Regions from separate parts of the Homo sapiens genome. Here all the other regions are linked to region 3. Evidence: promoter capture Hi-C in 16 types of primary human blood cells and fetal thymus (Javierre and others, 2016). All regions are on one chromosome and are shown on one strand. Each heading gives the region's core, a stretch centred on a gene start or on the middle of the fragment in contact. The rest is flanking DNA. Distances are from core to core; before and after follow the strand shown. Region 1 overlaps MARCHF6 (membrane associated ring-CH-type finger 6). Region 2 overlaps MARCHF6 (membrane associated ring-CH-type finger 6). Region 3 holds the start of CMBL (carboxymethylenebutenolidase homolog).

Region 1 (2,937 bases), core at 186-2,685, 93 kb before region 3:
CACAAGAGTTGCCAAGCCCTACAGCATCAGGTCAAGGAAAAACTGAGTATTTAAAGGTACAATGAAACAGGTAACTACTTAGCCAACATTTAGTATTTTTTGACAGAATTAATTTATTTCACATTTTGTCCACACTGACCCTTACTGCAAATACCTACAACTTTTACTAAGAGGACAAGGATAGACAAGTTTCGCCATTAATGAAGAGTTCTTTGGTATGAATAATATTAGTGTACACCCAAGTTGGTTCATTAAAGGATACATGACAAATTATCAGTGTTATTGCTAAAAGTATATACCCAACTATGGTTGTGATTAGGCCTTCAAAATGAGATGCTTGGACCTGGAAATAAGAAAAAAGTAAATAAAATTTAATTTTACAACATGTTCTACACCCCGGTTTTCCCATATTAAACAATCTAAATGACTAAAAGAGAATTGTTGAGACAATTTATAACCAGGAAACAACTGTAAAATCTGCTTTGGATGACATCTCTGAAAACCAAATTCTCTCACTGACTGTTATATATTACTAAAAAATGAAGAAAAATTAAATAACACTTTACCCAAGGAGACAAAATAACAGTAGAGTGAATTAAATTTTACAAAAACAAGAGCACTGTAATACAACAGCCTGCCCTCTACTCTCACTCTAAAGCAGATTTGCTAAAGGCTAACCACTGAAAGCAGGAACACACTGCCCAAGTCACCCACCAGCTGGGTAATATCCTAGCCACCTCATTTCCTACCACTAGAAGTAACTGTTCAAGTTTCCCTTGCTCTGCAAATCTGTCCCATTCTCAACTTATAGAAAGAATTTTGAAAGTAACAGTGCCTGTCGGTATTTTTTGATTCCTGAGTTTCAGATAGCAAGTGGCAAAAGTTTGGAAAGTCAAAATTTTTCAAAACACTTACCTGAACCTTTCAAGTTCTTGCATTCAACTAGTGAGAATCAGAGGTGTACTAAATATGAGAAGACTTCAGAACGTGATCTCTCAGATCTCAAATATACAAACTGAGCATATGATCCCAGATAGTCAGCTTTTCCATAAAAGACTAAATTGTTCTAGGGCCCCAACAGAGAAGTAATAATCCTTCCAAAATTTATTTACCTCTGGAAAATACTGATAAAATGTCAAAACTAAAGCACTCTAGAAAACACTACAACCCGTCATTCCAAAATATTCTACCCTTTTTAAATTGATTGATATATTGTTACTTTTCTAAATTCAGCAGGGGGCACCTGGGGAAAGGGAAAGAAGAGAACATACAGGTTCTTGAGATGGACAGAAAATCAGCCTGTGGGAAACTTTCCCACGGTATGCCTCAGGCCCACCCAGCTGACTGGATTTCAGAGCACATTTTCATTAGTTGGCAACATGACCACTATCTCTTGAGCCACTGTTATTTTTTTTAAAAAAGAATGAGACGGTATTGCCTAACTATTCCCTTGCATAATGCCAATGAAGAAATGATGTAACTCTTTAGAATACTATTTTATTAATAATCACATTTGGGAGTAATGAATGAAAGTAACTTTGTAAAAGTATTATACTCACGTGTTCTTCAAATCCCAAACCAACAAGGGAGAAATGACCAATATGGTAAGGGCAAAATGCTAAAAAGGGGGAAAAAATTCCATGAAAACTCCGACATCAAAACAATGAACACTCCTACTACAATTCCCCACTAAAAGGAACTAGGGCTTCTTGGAGAAATGAAAGATTCCAGAACTAGGCTAAAAATACACTGCCTAGGACATTCTCTGTAACTAGAGAACAACAAAGCTATTAAGGTCTAATAGGGCCATGCCAAATCAACACAGAAACCATTGTGAAAACAGGCCAAAGAGAGGATAATATGAGCATCAAAAAGAATAATGACCAAAACTGATGGAAAAACACTGAACATACACAAATCCATGAGTTTATGATGCTCAAAAAAGGAAAAGTCCAAAATAATAATCACGAAAAGAGAAAAAGCAACATCAAAGAAAACACTTTGATGTTTTGGAAGCAGTTAGCACACCCATGTGAATAGTTAATACACCAATTCCTTATTCTGAAAACCAAAATTAATGGGAAAAATATGAGCATCTGTCCTACTTGCCCCGGACAGACAGGTTTGGGTTGACTGAATAGTCCCAAATTGATAAGAATTTCTTCTTCTTTCAGAAAAGTCAGCCAATAAATATAAAAAATGACTGTTTAAAATATCACTCCCAACAGATTATTTTATAATGGTAAAGGGAAAAACAAAACCTAAGATTAGAGGCCCAGGTTGATATCAGCTGAATCCAGTGATAAAAGTGGATAATCCAACATCATGTATCTCAGCTCCTCACATATACTATTAATAGGCACAGTGTGACCAGTGATGGATTTGTCCCAGATGTATTCAACCTGAATCTAATAAGGCCCTTAGATCTGACTTCCAGTTTAAGAGAAATATGGGAGACAAAGGATAAAGGCAGAGGACATCCAGGAAGCAGATGGACAGATGTAAAACATGACATGCTGCAAGAACAGTTAACCTAATCCCAGCAACAAATCAATGGCCAAATAGGGTGAGTTGGGGGAAGCAAAGAGAAGAGTACTCTAGATTAAAAGACTAATAACTTATAACTTAACAACTAAAAGTAATATGTGGACCTTATTTGGGTCTTCATTCAAAGAAACCAACTGCAAAATGGTATGTAAGGGACAACCCAGAGAGTTTGAATATGATGGATTATTAGGAAATACCAAATTCTAGTAATTTTGTAAGGTGAGATAATGGCATTATAGCTAAGTATGAAAGTATTTTTAAAACCTTTATAGCAAGAGAATTTTTATAGTCTTCTTTTTCCTCAAGTCTTTCTGGCTAAATTTTACTTCATTCCTAATAATAAAATATAGTTATCTTTTCTTTATGGTAGAAATAAATCGACAGCGCAGT
Region 2 (2,848 bases), core at 113-2,612, 110 kb before region 3:
TGATGCAGCTTCTTGTTTGTGGGGTCACTCATTTCCCTGAACTACAACGTAAGAAGCCCAAATACCTTGAGGTTACTTAGCTATGAAGCAGCCCAGGCACATATAGGAGCTCCAGTCAACAGCCCCAGATGGGTAGCAACCAACAACAAGCATCAACTCTCACACTGTTAAGTGATCACTGACTGGGTTAGGGTATTATCAGCCTGACCCCTCCACTAGTTGTGTGTTTCCAGCCAAATGATTCCATCCATAACTGTCAAATCATTCCCAGCCATTGAATCTTCCCAGCTGAGTCCCAGATAGCACAAAGCAGAGGCAAAGTGATATGCCCTGTCTTAATATCTGACCCACAGACTCTATGGACAAAATTAAAATGGTTGTTTTAAGCTGCAAAGTTGCGGGATAACTTGTTACACAGCAATAGCAACTGAAGACTGATCAACCTTTCATCTGTTGGGTTCAACATCCATTAACAATCCTTGCTATAATCAATTATTTTGTTAGGTATTGCAAAATAGTATTTTTCTAATCGTGTTAATCTCTCTACCTTTATTTGCTGGCATTTTTCTGTAAAAAAAAAAAAAAAAGGTAGCTCTTTCCTTCAATTACAGATACTATTTGACTACTCTGGAATACGGCTCTTACAGAAAGGCATAACATATGCTTAATTAGATCCTCCTCAACTTACAATGATGTTAGGTCCAGATAAACCCATCTGTAATTGAAAACACTGTAAGTCAAAAATGCATTTAATACATCTAACCTACCGAACATCATAGCTTAGCCCAGCCTATCACAATGCGCTCGGAACATTTACATTAGCCTATAGTTGGGCAAAAACTTCTAACACAAAACCTATTTTATTTTTTGCCTTGTAGTATAACTGAGGCCTAACAAGCCTACGTAATTTTATAATTACGTAGTGACTATCTCATGCAATTTACTGAATACTATACTGAAAGTGAAAAACAGAATAGCTGTAGAAGTACTCAAAGTACAGTTTCTGCTGAATGTGTATCGCTTTCAACCATCAAAAAGTTAAAAAGTCATAAATCAAAACACAAGTCAGTTCTGTACTTCTTTGTATTACTTATTTCTCACCTATTCTAGTCTATGAACCAGACTAGAAAGGAGGCAGTTCCCCACATATGCATGCCTTGTCTCAAGCCAGGTCTGCCCATCTCCCTCCTGGAATATACTTCTTCCTTTCTTACCCACTTCTCTGTTCTCTACTAGTTAGGTTGGCTTAGATACTATCTCTTATGGAACACCATACCTGAAACTCCCAAAGCTAGATTAAATGTCTCTCCTACACAATGCCACAGTTCCTTGTGCTTCCCCTAATCACACCACACAACACCTGTGTACCTGTCTAGCTTTCCCATCAGAGTGTGTAAATTCCTCAGGAAAATTACTGCACTAGCCTCATTTTCATCTGGGTGATACAATCCAGGGTGTGGGTACACCATTAAAAGCACTTAAATAAAAATTTTCGGGTAAATGAAGTTTGTGGAGGTTCTCCATCTGGAAAGCAGAAAAAGGGAAATACGGGCCAAATAATTTTCATTTTCTGAAAAATCCATTGCAATATACTAACAGATAAAAACAAAGCTAAAAAGCCTTTGAATGACTGAAGTCAATACCTAGCTCTTTTCCCCCAATACCTACTAAGAACTTGAGATCTTAATTCTATGATGTTAAAAACCTCAGGCTCTAAATACAATAGAAAAGTTCCATTTCTTTTTCCATGAGCTTTAAGACCTTTGCTGTGACTTACATGGGTTCCCTCAGGATGCTCTTGGTTTTTTTTTTTTTTTTGGAGACAGGGTCTCACTCTTGTCGCCCGGGCTGGAGTGCAGTAGCATGATCTCAGCTCACTGCAACCGCGGCCTCCCAGGCTCAAGAGATCCTCCCACCTCAGCCTCTCGAGTAGCTGGGACCACATGCCCACACCACCACGCTTGGCTAATTTTTTGTATTTTGGGTAGAGATGGGATTTCACCATGTTGTCCAGGCTAGTCTTCAACTCCTGAGCTCAGGTGATCCACCCACCTTGGCCTCCCAAAGTGCTGTGATTGCAGGCATAAGCCGCTGCACCCAGCCAGGATACTCTTTTTAATGAATCTGTGACTTTGTGGGAAAACATGCTATAATAATTCAAAAGTATTAAAGCCTCCAAGTCAAAAGGAGTAAGACAATTCACCCTACCTCAAAGGTGAACAAAAATCAATGACTATTAATTTGTATTTTCAAGTATTAGAGAAGACTAAATGGTTAGTAACATTTTAACCTATAAAGTAAGCACTTTTAAAGGAGTTATAAGACCTGCATATTCTGAAAGATTAAAGAGCATTAAACAATTTTATAAGAGTTCCTAGAATTAAAAAAAAAATTAGTCTTTCTAAACCAGCTGCTTAAAATCACCTAAAATAATTAAAAATTATATTTTTTTCCTTTTGTCTTTTTTTTTTTTTTTTTTTTTGGACAGAGGCTCTTACTCTGTTGCCCAGGCTACAGTGCAGTGTCATGAACATGGCTCACTTCAGCCTCAACCTCCTGTGATCCTCTCACCTTTGCCTCCCAAGCAGCTGGGACCAGACGCATGAGCCAATTTTTTATAGAGACTAGGTCTTGCCATGCTGCCCAGGCTGGTCTCGAACTCCTGGGTGCAAGCAGTCCTCCCACCTCAGCCTCCCAAAGTGCTAGATTATAGGCGTAAGCCCCATGCCTGGCTAGGATTATTTTCTGATCTCAAATCCTTAATGAAATAACATGAGCAAAAGACATACATTTACCTGCCATGGATAAAAAAGAGGAGTCTGATCCAAGGGAACCCTCAGGGGAGCCA
Region 3 (2,900 bases), core at 134-2,633:
ACAACAACAACAAAAACATCATAGATAGACTTGGGTAGCTTAAACAACATTTATTTCTTATAGTTCTGGAAGTTGGAAGTCTGGGATGGGCCAGCAGGATTGGGTTCTTGGTGAGTATCCTCTTCCTGGCATACAGATGAGGAAGCAAGCTCCCTTGCCTCTTTTTGTAACGGCACAAATCCCATTCTTGGGGGCTCCACCCTCATGACCTAAGCATCTCCCAAAGGCCCCGCCTCCAAATACCACCATGGGCGGGGTGGTTAGGATTTCAACGTACAAATTTTGGAGGGGACACAAACATTCAGTCCATAACAACACCTTTGCAGTGGGGATGGCAGGAAGTGCGGCCACCACGGTGCAATGGCTTTTTAATGTGCCCATTTGTCCAGGCTGAGCTATATTCCTAGAATTCCCTTTTCCTGTATGTTTCCAGTTTGAGTGAGCCACAGGGGTGTGCTTCTGCAGCCAAGTTGAAGCTGTTGTCATAACCTTGGGCAGATGACCAGAGAAAATACGAAGGAGGCAAGTATGAAACGTGTATTAATTTCTTTTTTAAAAAAAGGCTTAATTTGGGGCTGGGGCCGGGTGCGGCGGCTCACGCCTGTAATCTCGGCAGTTTGGGAGGCCGAAGCAGGTGGAACACTTGAGGTCAGGAGTTCGAGACCAGCCTGGCCAACACGGTAAAACTCCGTCTCTATTGAAAACACAAAAATTAGCTGGGCGTGGTGGCGCGTGCCTATAATCCCAGCTACTGGGGAAGCTGAGGCAGGAGAATCACTTGAATCCGGGAGGTGGAGGTTGCAGTGAGGTTGAGGTTGAGATCGTGCCACTGCACTCCAGCCTCGGCAACAGGGTTAGACTCCATCTCAAAAAAAAAAAAAAAAAAAAAAAAAATTGTGGCTGGGCATGGTGGCTCACACCTGTAATCCCAGCACTTTGGGAGGCTGAAGGGGAGGATCACTTGAAGCCAGGAGTTCGAGGCTCCAGTGATCTATGATTGTGTCACTGCACTCCAGCCTGGGTGACAGAATAAGACCCTATCTCTAAAATAAAATAAAATAAAATAAAATAAAATAAAATAAAATAAACAAAAAATAGCTTAATTTGTATTTACAACAGAAGTTACTTGTCTTGGAAGCCAGGCACGCACGTAAATCTCACAGAAGGCTGGCTGTCTTCCTTCTCCTGGCCTCCCTGCCTCCTCCCTCAAGGCTGCCTGATTCTCTTCTCCCTTCCTCTCTGCGGTTCCCTCCCTCCCACCCCCTCTCCCTGCACCTTTCTTTATCTTGGAGCCTCTCCCATCTCTCCCTCCCTCTTCCTCCCTACCCCACCCTCCGACCACCCCACTTCTTCCCCTCCCCTCACACTTCCCTCCCTCCCTTCTCTCGTCTCCTCCCCACTGCGCCTCCCTCCCTCCTGGCCTTCCTTCCCTTCCCCGACTTTGCAGATTTCTCTTCCCCCAGGCCTCCCTCCTCCACCTCTCCGCCCCCTCCGGGCTTGGCTCTCCCAGGAGGCTACGACTGGAGCCACTGGTCCCGCAGGATCCCCGCGTCCTCGGTCGCCGCGTCCACGTCCCTCTCGCGTCCCCGCCCGGCGCCACGCCGCCTCCTCTGGGTTCGGCCTCCGCGCGGTGCAGCGCAGTCTCAGGCCGCGGGACAAGGTACGTGCGCGTCCCCGGGGCACACAAGCCCACACAAGCCCGGGCCCCGCTCCTCTGAACTCCCGCGTGTGTTCTGACTATGGCAAAGAAGGTCTTTGCCGCGTGCACGGGTAAGGAACTTCCCATAGTCCGTTTTCAGAAGCTGACTTTCATAAAAGTGATACGTTGTCCTTGCAGAACAGCAGCCTCCACGATCCCATGCGTCCGAAGCAGCCGCTGTTTACATTTTGGTATTTTCCTGTAGGTGTTTCGCCATGCATTTTAAAGACATAGTGGAAATCACACCGTATGCAAACTTGCGTTCGTTTTGGCCATTTAGCACGGAGGAGCCTTTCCACCATGCCGTTAAATACTCCTTGTAACTCTCTTCCTGCAGTGAGACATTCTGGTTGTAGCGTTTTTACTAATATAAAACTATTAAAAAACTGAGCATATTTGCAACTAAATCAGCATCCACATTCGACAGCTTTTCTTTAGGGTGGGTATTAAGAAGAGAGGTGCTGGGTCTATGGATCTAAGAGTGGGACATCCTAAATGCTGGGTAGGTGTGCCAGGAACGACTGGACAGTTTACACCCCACAGCCATGTGGGTCGGGCAGGCCTTGGAAACACTGGGCACTGAGATTTATGTCCACTTGCTGATGGAAGATGCCACCTGTTGTTTTCAAAGCCCATTTAAAATAAAGTGGTTAGTAATGAGCCTCGCCGGTATCCGGGGAATCCTGTCCAGGCCTGGGAACCCTATCCAGGCCTAGGAACAGCCAGAGAAAAAGCAGATTCTGCAGGGGCGTCGTTGGCATGTCTAAGAGGGCCATTGTGGGCTCATCCAGGTAGCTTCCTAATTCATGCTATCTCGACCATAGACACTTGGAAAATACAAGCATGGCTGCTGAAAAATAAATATTTGGAGAAGTTTGATGTTTGTAGAATCATCTAAGGATAAGTACTGGCCCTGCCTTCCCTGCTGCAAGATTGAAAATCACTTGCCATGCAAGTTCCTACAATGTTTAAGCAGTAAAGGAGAAACCTCCTGCCTTTCCCATTAGACCCCACTTTCCTGTGTTGTCTTGGGGTCCTCTGTAACCCTGAGCCCTGGATGCACTTCCACGTGGTTTCTATTTCTAAATTTCTAAAGCTTCCAGAAATGTATTCCTCCCTTCTCTCCTCTCCTCCCCGCTGCGCCTCCCTCCCTCCTGGCCTTCCCTTCCCCTACTTTGCAGACCTCTCTTCCCCCAGACCT

What was found. Contacts are between HindIII fragments. The CHiCAGO score rates a contact against its expected background, and 5 or more counts as called.
Region 1: a fragment that was not itself captured here is called in contact with the fragment with the promoter of CMBL in region 3 in 1 of 17 cell types (erythroblasts); the score reaches 6.2 in erythroblasts.
Region 2: a fragment that was not itself captured here is called in contact with the fragment with the promoter of CMBL in region 3 in 4 of 17 cell types (erythroblasts, megakaryocytes, naive CD4 T cells and 1 more); the score reaches 10.9 in erythroblasts.

What each region holds. Positions count from the first base shown.
Region 1 is chr5:10,399,465-10,402,401 of GRCh38, reverse strand. MARCHF6 (membrane associated ring-CH-type finger 6) reads right to left here. Exons shown (of 26, transcript NM_005885.4): 11 at 1,560-1,618; 12 at 263-343; 13 at 1-18. MIR10397 (microRNA 10397) reads right to left here and starts at 38; the gene lies at 1-38. RefSeq lists an enhancer at 1,336-1,385. The HindIII fragment of the contact is 4,451 bases long and covers 1-2,937 here.
Region 2 is chr5:10,417,352-10,420,199 of GRCh38, reverse strand. It overlaps MARCHF6 (membrane associated ring-CH-type finger 6), which reads right to left. Exons shown (of 26, transcript NM_005885.4): 22 at 2,796-2,848. Among named protein-coding and RNA genes, the nearest start is that of MIR10397, 16 kb to the right of the region's middle. The HindIII fragment of the contact is 7,264 bases long and covers 1-2,848 here.
Region 3 is chr5:10,306,385-10,309,284 of GRCh38, reverse strand. It overlaps CMBL (carboxymethylenebutenolidase homolog), which reads left to right and starts at 1,383. Exons shown (of 6, transcript NM_138809.4): 1 at 1,383-1,660. RefSeq lists an enhancer at 1,605-2,105. The HindIII fragment of the contact is 4,286 bases long and covers 1-2,797 here.